4 separate regions of the Homo sapiens genome follow, and all the other regions are linked to region 2. Evidence: promoter capture Hi-C in 16 types of primary human blood cells and fetal thymus (Javierre and others, 2016). All regions are on one chromosome and are shown on one strand. Each heading gives the region's core, a stretch centred on a gene start or on the middle of the fragment in contact. The rest is flanking DNA. Distances are from core to core; before and after follow the strand shown. Region 1 has its middle 10 kb from the start of IL19. Region 2 holds the start of IL24 (interleukin 24). Region 3 overlaps DYRK3 (dual specificity tyrosine phosphorylation regulated kinase 3). Region 4 overlaps MAPKAPK2 (MAPK activated protein kinase 2).

Region 1 (3,685 bases), core at 185-2,684, 140 kb after region 2:
AAATAATGGGAAGATCTTTCAACTTTCATAAGCGACAGAACTGGCTACAGAATGAACCAGTCAATTGCATATCTTCAGGGGCTAGTGGGTCCCAGGTGACACATGGGTTCCATTATTCAATACCCCTTCTAGGCACTAACTCACTTGGTGACTTCAAAGATTTTACTTAACTTGTCTGGGACTCAGTTTCCTCAACAATAAATAAGAAAATAGGTCTGAATCAATGGTTTCCCTTGGGGAAAACCATTCACCTCTGTGGCCACTACAGTGGAGCCAGTCGCTCCTGGGGACAAGAGTGACAGCGCTTATAGCAGGTGATGGGGGTAGTCTGAGCAATTTCCAAAATTTGAAAAAGCCTCATGGAAATTGTGCATTTAGCAACACCTCCTCTCATAAGTCTGCACAAGCTCATTAAAAAGCACTTCTCCCTGTTTGGATGGAGTCATCCACTTTGTGTGGGAAGACAGTTTGTCCCATGCCAATCAGAGTTCTATTTGGCCGTTATCTATTACATCTTTTTCTTTTCTTTTTTTTTTTTTTTTTTGCCAAGGAGTCTCGCTCTGTCGCTCAGGCTGGAGTGTGCAGTGGCACGATCTCAGCTCACTGTAACCTCTGCCTCCCAGGTTCAAGCGATTCTTACGCCTCAGCCTCCCATGTAGCTGAGATTACAGGTGCCCGCCACCACGCCCAGCTAATTTTTGTATTTTTAGTAGAGACGGGGTTTCACCATGTTGGCCAGGCTGGTCTTGAACTCCTGGCCTCCAGAGATCCACCTGCCTCAGCCTCCCAAAATGCTAGGATTACAGGTATGAGCTACCATGCCCAGCCCATCTATTACATCTTTGATTAAGGCAATCAGAAAATGGAATTATTTCTTTAAAAAGTTTTTAAGCAGCCAAAACATTTTAAAACAGAGAGTCTCTGGAGAAATTTAATAGCAGCAGTCCTTCAATTAAAAGCTTAAAAGTCGCTAAACTAGATGACCTCTAAATTCTGTTCGAGCCTGTAGTTCCTCATTCCAGCCACTGACTCCTCCAGTCCACCAGGCCTATTCCCACTGGAATCCTCCTCCAGGACTCATTCCTGTGTCTACAGCATCTGCACTCCTAATTTGCCAGGCAGTTCCCATTTATCTGTGTATTATCAACAGCTCCCTCCCCCAGCAGAATTGAGCTGCCATTGAGCCTTTAGCTTCCAGAGGCCTCCTTGGCACCCTGGCTGGAGAGGACAAGGGGGACATAAAAGACCTAAGGAAAGTGACACAGCGTACCTCTGACTCTACAGCACAGGGTGACATGCACAGCCTCTGGAGTCTGAGCCCAGGCTTCCACTTACTTCTCAGCTACATGACCTTGAGACATTCCCTAGCTTGGTATTCTCCTCTGTAACATGGAGAGAATAATTACTCTTTCAAGGTGTCGTCAGAAAAAATAAAGGCTTGAATACATAAAAGTCTCCCGGCACAGAGTAAATACTTAATAAAAGCAGCTCTATCGCAGACATTTGGGAAAATGCTCCCATCCAACCAGATGGAACAATAGGTGCCAACACCATGGAAAATAGCTGGACATGCCTTGCGCTTGTACCAATCATAGACCTGGGCTTTTCCTTACAGTGCCTTCTGCCTCCCTACCACCATTTCTGGGCGGAAAGAGTAAATGGTTTGTCCCTGCACTTGGAAGGGAAAGAAAGGAAGCAACCATTTTTGAGTGCCCACTTTCAATTTCCTGAAGGTGACCTCAGAAATGCTTGGCTTGGTGAAGTAAAAAAATACACATTATGAATTATAGCCCCTAGAGTTCTATAAATCCAGTGAACAGCTTAATATACATGCCTAACTGCCATTTAGAGCAATAATAGCTACACATACTATTAAGTATAGATTAGATCAACCATGTAGAAAGCTTATTCGATTACAGCACTGGACTTTGCTCAAATATGCTTTCTCCATCATTGCTGCTGATCTGCTAGCAATATGAAATATGAGAATTCAGCCAACTATTCTATTCTCCCTTACTATTATTCAAGAAAAAAATATTTTCCAAGGTCATGAAGCCATTGCATAACAGAGCTCATTGTGTGTCCAGTATACAACCCGGAATCTTATGCTTATTTAAAGAAGTCTTCCTGCATTACTTAGGGAAGTGGGATGTTATTTCCGCAAACTGACCCTATTATATACTCTTCACCAAGGCTGAATTAGTAACTTTGGTCAGTATGTGGCATTAAGTAACTAATTGAATCTCCCTACATAATAATCTCCACATTCATGTCTGATGATCATGACACCCAAATCGAAAGAGAAGCAGATTGCTTCTCCATAATCTGCAAAGATGGAGTCATCCACTTTGTGTGGAAAGACAGGTTGCCTCATGTCAATCAGAGTTCTATTTGGCAGTCATCTATTACATCTTTTTCTTTTTCTTTTTTTTTTTTTTTTTTTTTTGGAAAGGAGTCTCCAAACCTCTGGCTTGGAGGCAAGCCAAGCCAGAGGTTTTACAAGATACACACTTATTCACTCAGAACTTATTATGCTCCAGGTACTATGCTGGGTGTCGAAGAAAAAGCAGTGAATAAGACAGACATAATCCTTGCCCTCGTGGATTTCTTTTAATTTTTTAAATAGAGATGGGGGTCTCACTATGTTGCCCAGGCTGGATTTGAACTCCTAGGTGCAAGTGATCCTCCTTCCTCAGCCTCCCACCAATCCTGGCTCCAGCTACACGGATTTAATAGCTAGTTGAGGAAACAGATATTATAAAGTTAACTATATAATGTTATTATAATCATGATTATTTCTATTAATTAGAAGTGTGAGATTTCAGAAAGCAACTAACCTAGACTCAGGGCTAGGGGATGCTTTCATGAGATGGTAACATTCAACTGGACATGAAGGATGAGCAGGAGCTGGCCCAATGAAGAGAGAGGTGGTAAGAAGCAGAGCATTTTGCAGATTTAAAGACCACTAAGAACAGCAAAGAACGGGGGAGAAGGGGTTTATCTCTGGAGCAAAGGTAAATTTGTACCAATTCACGACCCAGCTGGACCCTGGGCTCTCTTCACAGCTCTCTGACTTCTCCATCCCATCTCATGTTCTGAGGCCCTGAGGCAAGAAGAAACTTAAACTCTTTGAGAAACTAAAAGATGAATCACAGAGAGTAAGGGACATTATATGTGATGGGGAGAGATTTAAGACGAGCTTGAAGAAGTGGGCATGGGTCTGATCACTCAGGGATGGTAGGCTATGGTCAAAAATTTAGACTCTAAGAGCAAAGGGAAGCCATTGAAGGCTATTAAACAGAGAGGATAATATATACCTTCTGTATGAGACCATTTAGGAGCCATTTGCTTCCAGTCCAGACAGGAAGAAATTGTGTTCTGGACTAAGGTGGTAATAAACAGGAATTGAGAGAAGTGCAAGGTTTCAAATAGTCTGCAATTATTTAGGTCAGAATGGTGAGAGTGGGCGACGGCCAAGGTGAACCCTCATCTCTTGTCTGAGCAGCTGGGTGGAGAAGCAGCAAGTTTGAAGGGGAAGGTGATCTGGTCTACACTGGTCCTGCTGAGTTGGAGGTGCCTCTGAGTCTTTAAGTGAAAATATACACGTGGTCAGATGGACATCAAGATTGAGTCTGGAGATCACTATGTGGGGGTCATTGATACAAAGATGGTGAGTAAAATCGTG
Region 2 (3,390 bases), core at 277-2,776:
AATGTGCCACGTCTGGGGAGCCCAAACCCAGGAAAACAAAGAGCTGAACTAGACATGTGCTTATCCAAGTTCTGCCCTGAAGCCACTAGGCACACATAGGCTGGCAGGTCTTTTTCTCCTCCCCAGGAGACGGCTGTCCCTCACTCCTCATCACAAGGGAGCAAGGGGTTAATCCTGGTCCCAGGGAGGGGCACAGAGGGCAGGTCAGGGTCACACACAGACTATGCCACCTCCACTAACCACTCACTCTTGAGTCTAAAAATTCACTTTTTTTAGTAACCAAATGAGAGAGAGGCATCAGATTTCCAGATGAATCATCTCTAAAGCCTTCCTCTGAAGTGCCAGTTGGGAAGGACTGAGTGAAGAGCCTCCAAGCTGGGGAACCTAACGCCATTATGTATTTATTATAACTGATGCAGAGAATTTCTTTCCCCCTGCCTTCTTTGCCCTTTGTCCTTTCCCTCCCTCTCTCCCTCCCTCCCTCCTTACCTTTCTTTCTTCCTTCTTTCCTCTCTCGCTCCCTCCCTTTCTTACTTTCTCCCTTTCTTTCGTACTTCTTTACACAATCATTTAAGAACCTTTCTTACTGCAGGCACTGGTCTGACACCTAAAGAAACTGCCTCCCACCCCTACACCGGGAGGAAGACCAGAGAAGACCCGGTTCTGCTGGTACCTGGGCTAGGGAGGCGGCGACCCCTGGGTTATGGGTCACGGGGGACGGGGGCTATGCTTTAGCATCTCCCTCAATGTCTTTTCATTCTGTTCTTTCAAACTCCACAGGCTTTTTTTTTTTTTTTTTTTTTTGACAGAATTTCAGTCTGTCACCCAGGCTGGAGTGCAGTGGCATGATCTCGGCTCACTGCAACCTCTGCCTACCAGGTTCAAGTGATGCTCATGCCTCAGTCGCCCAAGTAGCTGGGATTTTTGTATCTGAAAATATCAAAAACACATGCCCAACTAATTTTTTTTTGTATTTTTAGTAGAGACAGGGTTTCACCATGTTGGCCAGGCTGGTCTCGAACTCCTGACCTTAAATGATCTGCCCACCTCAGCCTCCCAAAGTTCTGGGATTACAGGTGTGAGCCACCGCACCTGGCTAAAGTCCACAGGCTTTGCAGCCTCTGTTGAAAATTCATCTCTCAGTCTCGTGTTCCTCCTGGCCTTCCTCCCAAGCAGCCTCAATTCTTCTTGGTGTTAAATTGGCGAAAGCAGCTCCTCATCACAGTCATGTCTTGTCCCTACATCAACACTCAAAAAAATTGACTTCTGCTGTCCCCACCTTGACCCCTTTTCACAAATAAAGCAGAGGTCTAGTCCTTCAAAAAAAAGTAACCAAGAATCCCCCATGCTCACCTCTGGTCCTGTAAGTGATGCTTGAGGGCTGGCTGCCTGGAGGCAGCTGGTTCTTTTTACAGAAAAGTTAGACAGGCACCTTCACCATTCACCAATCAGAGGCATAGCTGTGGGTGGAAGGTTCCCGTCCCAGCCGTGGAAGTCATTTCAGAAGTAAAGGTTTGCAGGCAAGCAAGGCTTTGTGGAGATTTGGGCATATATATGGGGGCTGATGGGGGAGGGGTGGAGGAAAAAGAGGGAGGTGGAGAAAGGGAAATTGGTCATGCTTTCCTAGAGAATTACTTCATTGCCTAGTCACCCATCACTTTAAGGACAATACAGCGATGGGGAAAGCAGCCCCTGAGGTGAGATGAGACCTGGGTTTGAGTTCAGGCTCTACCACTGGCTGTGTGGGCAGGGGCAAGTCTCTTAGCTTCTCTGCGCTGCAGTCTCTGCATGTATAAATTTTTAAAAAATTTGTCCCACCTCCCCCCAAGGGCAAGTGTAATAAACAGAGGCAAAAACAACACAGAGGTGCTTGGTAAACTCTGTACACATGTAAATACATTATTACTGTGCAGCATACACCAGTCTCCTTCCTGTCAAAATAATTCAATAATGATGCCCTATTCATGCTGGGACAGTAGTCCACAGCGAAGAAATAACCTGTAAGTACCTCTCCTTTAATCCATCAGGGCCAGGAAGTTGAGGAGTGTTTCCTGACATGCAGCTACCCATGGTCCCTAGGGTTATAATCACTCAACCAAAATGTGCCTCTCCTTAGGTTCTGGAAACCAGGAAGAATAAGGAAATGTACGCATGGACAAGCCCAGAAAGCTGGGAGGCCTGGTGCTCTGGTGGGCTAGTCTTGGCCTGTGTGGCTCTGAACCACTCAGGGGACACAGACAGCGTGATGTGTCAAGACTGCCAGGGCAGTCAAGAGCTCTGACCCTATCTCCAGCTAGCAAGGCACTCAGCTCTAGATTCTACCATGTGCCCAGTGAGGGCATCAAGCAGAGCAGTGTTTCCCAAAGCACAGTCCTCAGACTCTAGGTTTGAGGAATTCTTGTCTTGCAAGATCCTCCATGAAACAGATGAATCCTAATGAGGTCAGTTAGAGAGCCCTGGCATGTGCTAGCCCGTCCTGGAAATGTCTGATGCTTCTTAACTCTGTTTAATCCAGCATTTCCCATAAGTATTTGCCCACATCCCTGAGGAATACATTTTGGGAATCAGGGATTGGCCAACTGTAGGTCACAAGCCAAATCCAGCCTGCCACTGCTAAGCTGAGAATGGCTTAACCTTGCGACCTAAGAGTAGTTTTTACGTTTTTTAATGATTGGGGAAAAAATCAAAAGAAAGACATTATTTTCAGGTTTCCGTATCCATAATAAATAAAGTTTTCATGGGGTCACATATGTTTGTTGACATATTGTTGCTAATTGCTTTCGTGCTACAGAGGCAGAGATGAGTAGTTGTGACTGAGACCATATGGCACACAGAGCCTAAAATAGTTCCTGTCTGGTTCTTTACAGGAAGAGTTTGCCCAACCTGGGTCCAGGCATGGGAAACGGGAGTAGGAATGTGACGTGGGGGACAGGATAACTGCCTCCAGCTCAGTGGAGATGAAAGAAAAGAGGAGAGTGAGTAGAACACACCCTTGGCAGACTCTTCCCAATCTCTCTGGCACCAACACCCCCTCCCTCCATCTCATACTCAGTGTTGTTTATTTTCTTAAGCAAACAAAATACTCCTTTGCAATCCCTGGCCAGCAGTCTGCTTGGCTATAGCTGCCACCAGCCTGAATCCTTTGTTCCTGGAGGGCCCGAGTCTTACCCTCCAGAAGTAGGCACAGCCCCACAGCGCACTCTCTTCCCCCACTCCCCCCTTCCCACCATGTGGATTTAGGGCATTACCAAGAACCCCTAACTAACTACTATGAGATAAAGATGTCAAGAGGCAGTGATGAGACAGAAAAGAAGACCAGGTGAGAGTGCTGGAGTAATAGGTGAGTGGGAGGCAGGAGACAGCTAAAGCAGGAAGCTGAGAGGGAAAATG
Region 3 (3,646 bases), core at 854-3,353, 240 kb after region 2:
TGAAACAATCAGGATGCTAAAAAATTCTCAAAGCAATTCATTTTTATTTTTTAAAAAACACCCCAAAATAAAAAACCACTGACTCATCCATGCCAAACTGCACTTTCCAGAGGAAGCATGTCAGCAGACTCAAACGGACAATGGACAGAATCCCATGACACCAAAGTCATTCAAACCTGATGCTTCAGAGGCTGACATTCTGAGCTGAAATAGCCACAGGTCACCACTTGGCCTGATGTGGGACTCTCCTTTCTTTTTAGTCTATTCATGTGGTGGCAGAAGATGTGAGACTCTAGTCTCCAGTCAGGGAGGCTTCTCCTGTTATAGAAAAATATTAGAGTCTAGGCTTGACTTAGCGATGGGTGGGCTATATTAAGAATCATACCCTGCTTCTTCAAAGTCTAGACGATGCATTTGTAGTTCTGGCTTCTCTCAGGGGTTGTGGATCTCAGGGACCAGAGAGAGCTTTTAGTCCTTTTATGGATGGGTTCACTGTGACTCTAAAATCTTTTCTCATTGAAATTAGCCAGCATAATTTGACAGACACTCAGAAAAACACCCTAATCATATTAGGCTGAAGGCCAGGTCTGGAAGTAAATTCTTTAAAAGTTTGGGCTTCAGGAAGGATAGGTTGAAGGTGAAAATGGAGTATGTTAAAATGGGGATATTAAAAATATATTTAAAACTAGGAGGCTAATCCCTGGCAGAAGAGAACTCTTCTTTGATTTGCCAATCCCTGGCCTTTTCTTACTCCTTATTTGTACTGACTCCAGGTTTTCCATAGCATGAATGCCTGCCGCTGCTCTACGCATAGTAAGTTATAGCGTTCTACAGATTGGTCATCTAGACCGAAGACACGGAGGAAAACATGTTCTGGCAATTCTACCTGGCTCAAGGTGTAAGTATGTATTTTTAATTCTCAGAGGAGAAAAAGCATTACAGAGGCAGTCTAGAACAATCATTGTCACCTTTCCAACTTCCGTGTTGATGACATCAATAACAGATGGAAAAGAAATAATTAAAAATAAAGGAGAAAGAGTTTTCCATGATTCACCAAAGTAGTAGGAGTATTCTGTCAGGAAAGCTTAGAACCATTTATCAGCTGCTACCTAAAATTTAGCATTTAACTTTAATTATGCCTAGTTACGAATTAAGCAAAACAGAAAGTGTTTTAACATGACCAGCTGCTACAGATTGAAATAGTTTCACAGTAGAAATTTTTATTTTTTTATTGTTCTTTTTTGATTATGCAATAAGCCCCCTTCTTAACAGATTGTCACAAAAACTAAATTGTAATGACATTAGCCAGCTAACCTGTCTGCCCCAACTCCCTTAAACACCAAGGAATAAAGCATACTAATATGGTCATAAGTCAAACTTCCTCTGGGAAAGAAGATCCAGGCTAGACTCTTTCAGAGCCCCTGTGGGGCAGAAGCAGAATCCTTACATCATAGTTAGGTTTTGGTGGTATTCATTTTTTTTTCATTATTATCAAGGTAACTGTATCTAACACTGGACCAGAAGAAAATGTCCTTAATCCTTATCTCATTACCCTTTCCCAAAAAGAAGACATCAGAGATTGTGTGGGTCAACTTAAAAGAAGAGGCGAGCATGCTCCTGGTTCATGGAAGGAAATGAGCTTCCATCATCTGCACATGATCAGCGGGCATCAAAATCTGTTAATTCAGAACAATATGAAGACACACTCCCATTTGAAGCTTACTTTCTAATCTAAGGAGAAATCATGATAGCACATGATGAAAGAGTACATCAATAACTCTGAGGGTAGATGGTAGGATAGAATACTAGAAGATGAGCAGGTATTAGGTGGATTAGCCAATTTTCCATATTGAAAGAAAAAATGAGGCTGGGCACGGTCGCTCACACCTATAATCCCAGCACTTTGAGAGGGTAAGGCACATGGATCACTTGAGCCCAGGAGTTCAAGACCAGCCCGAGCAACATGGTGAAACCCCCTCTCTACAGATATACAAAAAATTAGCCAGGCATGGTAGCACGTGACTGTAGTCCCAGTTACTCTGGAGGTTGAGATGGGAGAATCACCTGAGCCTGGGAGGTTGAGGCTGCAGACAACACTGCGCCACTTCACTCCAGCCTGGACGACAGAGCGAGACTCTGTCTCAAAAAGAAAAAATAAAGAAAAAGAAAAAATGACTTGGGGAATGAAATAAAAATTCTAACCCAACTCTCACCGTGTCAGAAACAACTTGGAAATTAAAATTTGTCAATTTAGAACTCAGTAAGTCACCTAACCTAACCAGTTTGACTGAAATGACTAGAAGAAAAATGGCTAAAGAACAATCCAGTAACTGAGGAAGAGACAGTCTGAATTTCTGTACTAACTCTGATCCAATTCAGTCACTCATTGCTATGGCTGGGCAGGGATCCAAGTGAAACTTTTAACAGTGGCCAATAAGGTGGCATAGAGTTACTGCCTCTAAAAACCACAACTTGTCCCTAAGCTTGAAACCCAACCATAAACTTCCTCAAATCCATGTGGACGAGCACCATGTTTTTAAGCAGCCCACTCTCCTCAAACTTGAATTGGCCTGCAGAAGACAGGTATGCCAACTTCAATGACTCTGCTCTGCATCACTCTCTCGGTTGCCAAATTGAGGCAGAAACATCCATTTGCCTTCCTGTAGCTTTCTAAAATCTGTCTACAGTGTAATGAGTTGTCTATACACTTTCCCTTAGCCCAGTTTCAGTAACCTTGTAGTCCATTCGATACACAGAAATAGAGCACGCACCAACCTCAGCCACAGGCCCCTTTCTCTCCCAAGTTCAGGCACAGTACTGGCTAGAACTCTCACTAAAAACACAAACACCAAAACACAGTGTACATCAGATGCATATGGGGTAGTAATGCTTTTAACAGTTTGCTTACAGGAGCAGTTCTTCAACACTGATAACAACTGGCAAAACAACCTCAACATATGCTCTGCCTAGATAATGCAGGAGATCCTTAAATTTCTCCAAGTTAGAAAATTCAGGACAACAGCAATATGGTGTTAGAGACTTCAGATCTGTGTCAATCAGATATAGCCTTGCTGCCACCTAAAGATGTGCTCGCCACCCCACACATGGCTTTAGCAGCAGTTCCAAAGGCCAATGCATTCACTCTTGGAAGACAGTGTCAGCTGTCTTGACACTGCTGCTGGCTACATTTAACCAACTCTATGATGTGGTACCAGAGCCCAAGAAATACATCAAGCCAGATCATTCTGTCCAAACATCCCAAGGAAACATGTGCCTTGGACAGCACCTGAGTGGGAACAGGCTGCTAATGTTGATATAAAATGCAAAATAGTAAAAGTAGCATTTTCTCTAATTTACTATTCAGTGAGAAACCCATGCAGAAATCCAATGCAGCAAATTGTAGAGGTTCAATGCTCCCTGATCTGCAGTTAAGCCAGGTGTGCCACCTCCTTCATCTGACTTGGATCCTGCTCTGGACTTCAAGGAAACATCTACCTGGCTAGCAGTTCAAGGACTCGATATAAAAATAACTCATGCTTTGTTTCAACTGGAGGGTCATGACACTGTTGGGCCTACAGGAAAACCATTCATAAGTCAATGTAAGCTCATATCTACTGAAAGAGTAGATTTGAGTTTTTTGAGTAGA
Region 4 (3,722 bases), core at 1,070-3,569, 200 kb after region 2:
GACTAAGAGCAGCTTTTCAGCAGCAGAAGAATGAGAACAGACAATGTGAGAGATCATCACTCTACCCCAGCTCAGTCTCAGAGAGCACAGCCCAGTACTATCCCACTCCCAGGGCTGCCACAGTCCCTGACTCTGAGGATTACCTCTAGTACATCACATTTAATATCGGTGGCATCCACTATTACTCAGTTATCACACCTTTATTCAGCAGCTAAGTATAATGCATATAATGCACAGTGCCAAAATACTCTAGGATTCTTTTTTCAGAGACGGGGTCTCGCTCTGTCACCCAGGCTGGAGTGCACTGACATGATCATAGCTCACTGTAACCGTGACTTCCTGGGCTCAAGTGATCCTCCCACCTCAGCCTCCTGAGTAGCTGAAACTATGGGTATGTGCCACCACAGCTGGCTAACCTTTTTAATTTTTTGTAGAGATGGGGTCTTGTTATGTTGCCCAGGCTGATATCAAACTCCTGAGTTCAAAAGATCCTCCCACTTGTCCTTCCAAAGCACTGAGATTACAGGCGTGAGCCACCATGCCTGGCCTGAGTTTTTTAATGAGGACATACGGTCACTACATGAAAATAAGAGGACACAAAAATAATGAAGATGTAGGTTTTCAGGGGATTTACAGTCCAATCCGATATCTAAAGAGGTGCCTTGCGTTCCTGTGCGGAGTCTGGAAACAACATGCAGAAATGGCACCTTGAAAGGGGAAGGAAAAGAAGGAAGAACAGGTCATCAGCCTCAGACCTCAGGTGGCTGAAGGAGAGAATGTATTTGGTGTCTGCCATATCTTTGCATCCTTCAATGACACTTTTGTCCATGTCACTGATCTTTCTGGCAAAGAAATCATCTGCCGTGTGACTGGTAGGATGAAGGTGAAGGCAGGTGAGATGAATCCTCACCACATGCTGCTATGTTGGCTGCCCGGGATGTGGCCCAGAGCTGGGTATCACTGCCCTACACATCGAACTCCGAGCCATAGGAGGAAGTAGAACCAAGACCCCTGGACCTGGGGCCCAGGTGGCCCTCAGGGCCCTTGCCCGCTCAGGTATGAAGATCGGACAGATTGAGGACGTCACTCCCAACCCCTCTGACAGCACCCGCAGGAAGGGGGGTTGCCATGGTCACTGTGCACAGGACTCCTCAAATATTTTCCGTTAATAAATTACCTTCCTGTTAAAAAAAAAAAGAGAGAGAGAGAGAGATGCCTTGCACATGGAGAAATGCACTTAAACAGAGAAATAAAAGGTAAGAGTGTATCAGCAAGTTTGATGGGGAAGGATGGGAAGACCCACTTTTGGTGCGAAAGGCTCTGGAAAAGCAGCATCTGTGCAGGGTGGAAAAGGTAGATATAGACAGGACGGGGGACAGGCATGGTACAGAGAAGATGCAGATGGATAGATGCTAAGGTGTGGGGGTGGAAAGCACAGTTCTGTTAAAGAAACAACATATATAAGCCACTTAAGCTGGGGAGAAAAAAAAAGCATGTGTTCCAAAAAAAAAAAAAAAAACAGATCAGGGCCAGATCTGGGAAAGATGTGGATATCTCATGTATTCTGCAGGCAGAGAGACCCACTGAAGGGCTTAAGCTGGGAAGCTACATGATCAGAGCTGGGCTCTGGGCAAACTAATCCCCCACTGCACGCCGAAGAATCATGGGGGCAAGACCTTCCTTCCATAGCTGAGGGTTCTCAGAGTTAGCCACATGTTTCAACCACCCATCCCACCCCCTACTACTCTCTATTCCTTCTCTCTCTGGTTACACCTCAAACCTAATTTTATTTTCTTTTAAAGTATCCGAGCCCAGGTAGCCAAATCAAATGCATAAAGTCAGGAAAGTCTGAGACCCAGGAGAGGGGGCACTGCCACCCTTCCTCCTCCTCTCTGTGAGCACAGGTCACTAAAGCACATCAGGGGAAGAGAACACAAAGGGTATGAAGTCACTAAGAGTCGCAGGTGGGCTCTGCTGGAAAGGACATGATGCTCGTGAGCCTGGCAGTCAGAGGGAATGACAGCACTTGGCGTGTCTGCAAGCGCAAGTGTTTCCAGGGCAGGTTACTACATATGCTCATTTTCTCCCTGTGGCCTCCCCATCTGCCAGAGATCTGGGTGCCTGTAAGGATGTAGAAGGTATGGGATGACCCCTTGCTGGGCTGTCCAACTCAGCTGTGCAGCCAGGCTGCTCTGAGCTGCAGGGCACATGCAGCCTCCTCATCAGGTCACCTGCATTCCTAGAATTCTCCAAGTTCCAGACACACGGCCTTTAGTGTCCAGGGCTCTCCCCGCAGGACCCTTTGAGCTCTGCAGAAGCCAAGCATGACGAGCAACCTGCAGATTCCTCACTTAGAGAAGCTAGCCTTCTCCAGCTCCCGTGAAGCCTGGCCTTTAGAATCCTACTAACCTTCTTCTAGGAATCACAGAAGCCAAGGAAGGCAGTCGGGATAGGGAAAGACAGAGGGTATGGCTATTCTGAGGACAGGGGCTCCTTCTGTCAGAGTTAAAAATAAACACTTAGCAACTATGCCCAACTCTTCCTCTGCACAGGCCAATGGGCCTTGGCAGATAAATCTTTCCTTGCAGAGGAAATGTGGCCCCAGGGGAGAGGTGGGAGAAGGAGGCCATCGACACATGGTCAGAGTATGTAACTCTAGCTGAAGGCAGTGGGTTCCTCAAGTCCTATGTCTTGGTTGTCATTGCCATCACTCTCCACCATACACCCCTTCCCCCAAATAAACCATAATTCCTGAAAGCAGACATAGAGCCCTCCTAGGCCACGATTAGTATCAACACCTGTCTAGGGATTAGAAAAAATCAGAAAGAATACTAACGCCACGCTGAAGAACAGAATGCCAATGTCAGACTCTGCCCAGTATCTATCAGCTAAGCAAATATTCTAGCTACCTGAGCCCCTTTCCTCATCTTGCTCCACAAGTCTCCAGGATCCCTGGGGAGTAGAGGAAGAGGCCACACCTCCATGGACACACATCAATACTGCAGTCAAGAGGTAGAAGAAACCCATGCACTCGGTGACATTCTGCATGTGGCTGAGCTGGAAGGGCCAGAGGTGCCATGGCCTGACTCAGGAAGGAGATCCTGAGAGCCAGGGCCCAGTTATTCTTGGACGCTGACAAGATGAGGTCACACTTTTGAATGTGGTAGCCCAAAGCCTCACACTGCGGAGGTGGAGAATATAACGTAGCAACAGGGCAGGAGTACACGGTAGGTAGCATGCTCGGTGACAGGGCAGTCGGGTTGAAGGCCTGGGGCAGACTGCCCATGTGGGGCTGTCCTAGCATATAACTATGGTAACTCTGTTACCATAACCAGGTAACTCTGGCAAAGAGGCCTGCTTGGAGGTAAAACTGGAGGAAGCCAGGGCTGGAGGCGAGCACAGTAGAAGGTCTGATCCACTCTGATGAGCTTGGTCACTCTCCTTTTTGTCTAACCCTTTCCCTACTGGGAAATAAGCAGGACAGCTTCACGGAGCTTTCATACACACAAATCTAGACACCTGGAGACATAAAAACCATAGCACGTCTCCCAGCACTCAGAAGAGTGAGTTAGCCCCAAATCACCTACCAAGCTCAGGCTGGAAGAGAAAGGGGCAAGCAGGGAGAATATCAGCAGAAAGTGAGAGAAACAGGTCAGCGGTGTGGCAGGAAGCACTGGGACAGCTAACAGGGCCTGGCTGTGAGGGGAGACTGCAGCAGTGGC

Evidence for each region. Contacts are between HindIII fragments. The CHiCAGO score rates a contact against its expected background, and 5 or more counts as called.
Region 1: a fragment that was not itself captured here is called in contact with the fragment with the promoter of IL24 in region 2 in 7 of 17 cell types (non-activated CD4 T cells, activated CD4 T cells, naive CD4 T cells and 4 more); the score reaches 8.5 in non-activated CD4 T cells.
Region 3: a fragment that was not itself captured here is called in contact with the fragment with the promoter of IL24 in region 2 in 8 of 17 cell types (naive B cells, total B cells, activated CD4 T cells and 5 more); the score reaches 8.4 in naive B cells.
Region 4: a contact is called between a fragment that was not itself captured here and the fragment with the promoter of IL24 in region 2, in 7 of 17 cell types (activated CD4 T cells, total CD4 T cells, non-activated CD4 T cells and 4 more). The highest score is 10.3, in activated CD4 T cells.

The regions. Positions count from the first base shown.
Region 1 is chr1:206,758,979-206,762,663 of GRCh38, reverse strand. No RefSeq gene overlaps it. Among named protein-coding and RNA genes, the nearest start is that of IL19, 10 kb to the left of the region's middle. The HindIII fragment of the contact is 945 bases long and covers 962-1,906 here.
Region 2 is chr1:206,895,579-206,898,968 of GRCh38, reverse strand. It overlaps IL24 (interleukin 24), which reads right to left and starts at 1,526. Exons shown (of 7, transcript NM_006850.3): 1 at 1,354-1,526; 2 at 1,093-1,238. The coding sequence starts at 1,136. It overlaps LOC105372879 (a long non-coding RNA gene), which reads left to right and starts at 2,851. Exons shown (of 2, transcript XR_007066836.1): 1 at 2,851-2,975. The HindIII fragment of the contact is 4,835 bases long and covers 1-3,390 here.
Region 3 is chr1:206,651,537-206,655,182 of GRCh38, reverse strand. It overlaps DYRK3 (dual specificity tyrosine phosphorylation regulated kinase 3), which reads right to left. Exons shown (of 3, transcript NM_003582.4): 3 at 25-3,646. Among named protein-coding and RNA genes, the nearest start is that of DYRK3-AS1, 18 kb to the right of the region's middle. The HindIII fragment of the contact is 765 bases long and covers 1,721-2,485 here.
Region 4 is chr1:206,693,248-206,696,969 of GRCh38, reverse strand. All of the region lies in intron 1 of MAPKAPK2 (MAPK activated protein kinase 2), which reads right to left. It also overlaps the pseudogene RPS14P1. Among named protein-coding and RNA genes, the nearest start is that of MAPKAPK2, 10 kb to the right of the region's middle. The HindIII fragment of the contact is 5,635 bases long and covers 1-3,722 here.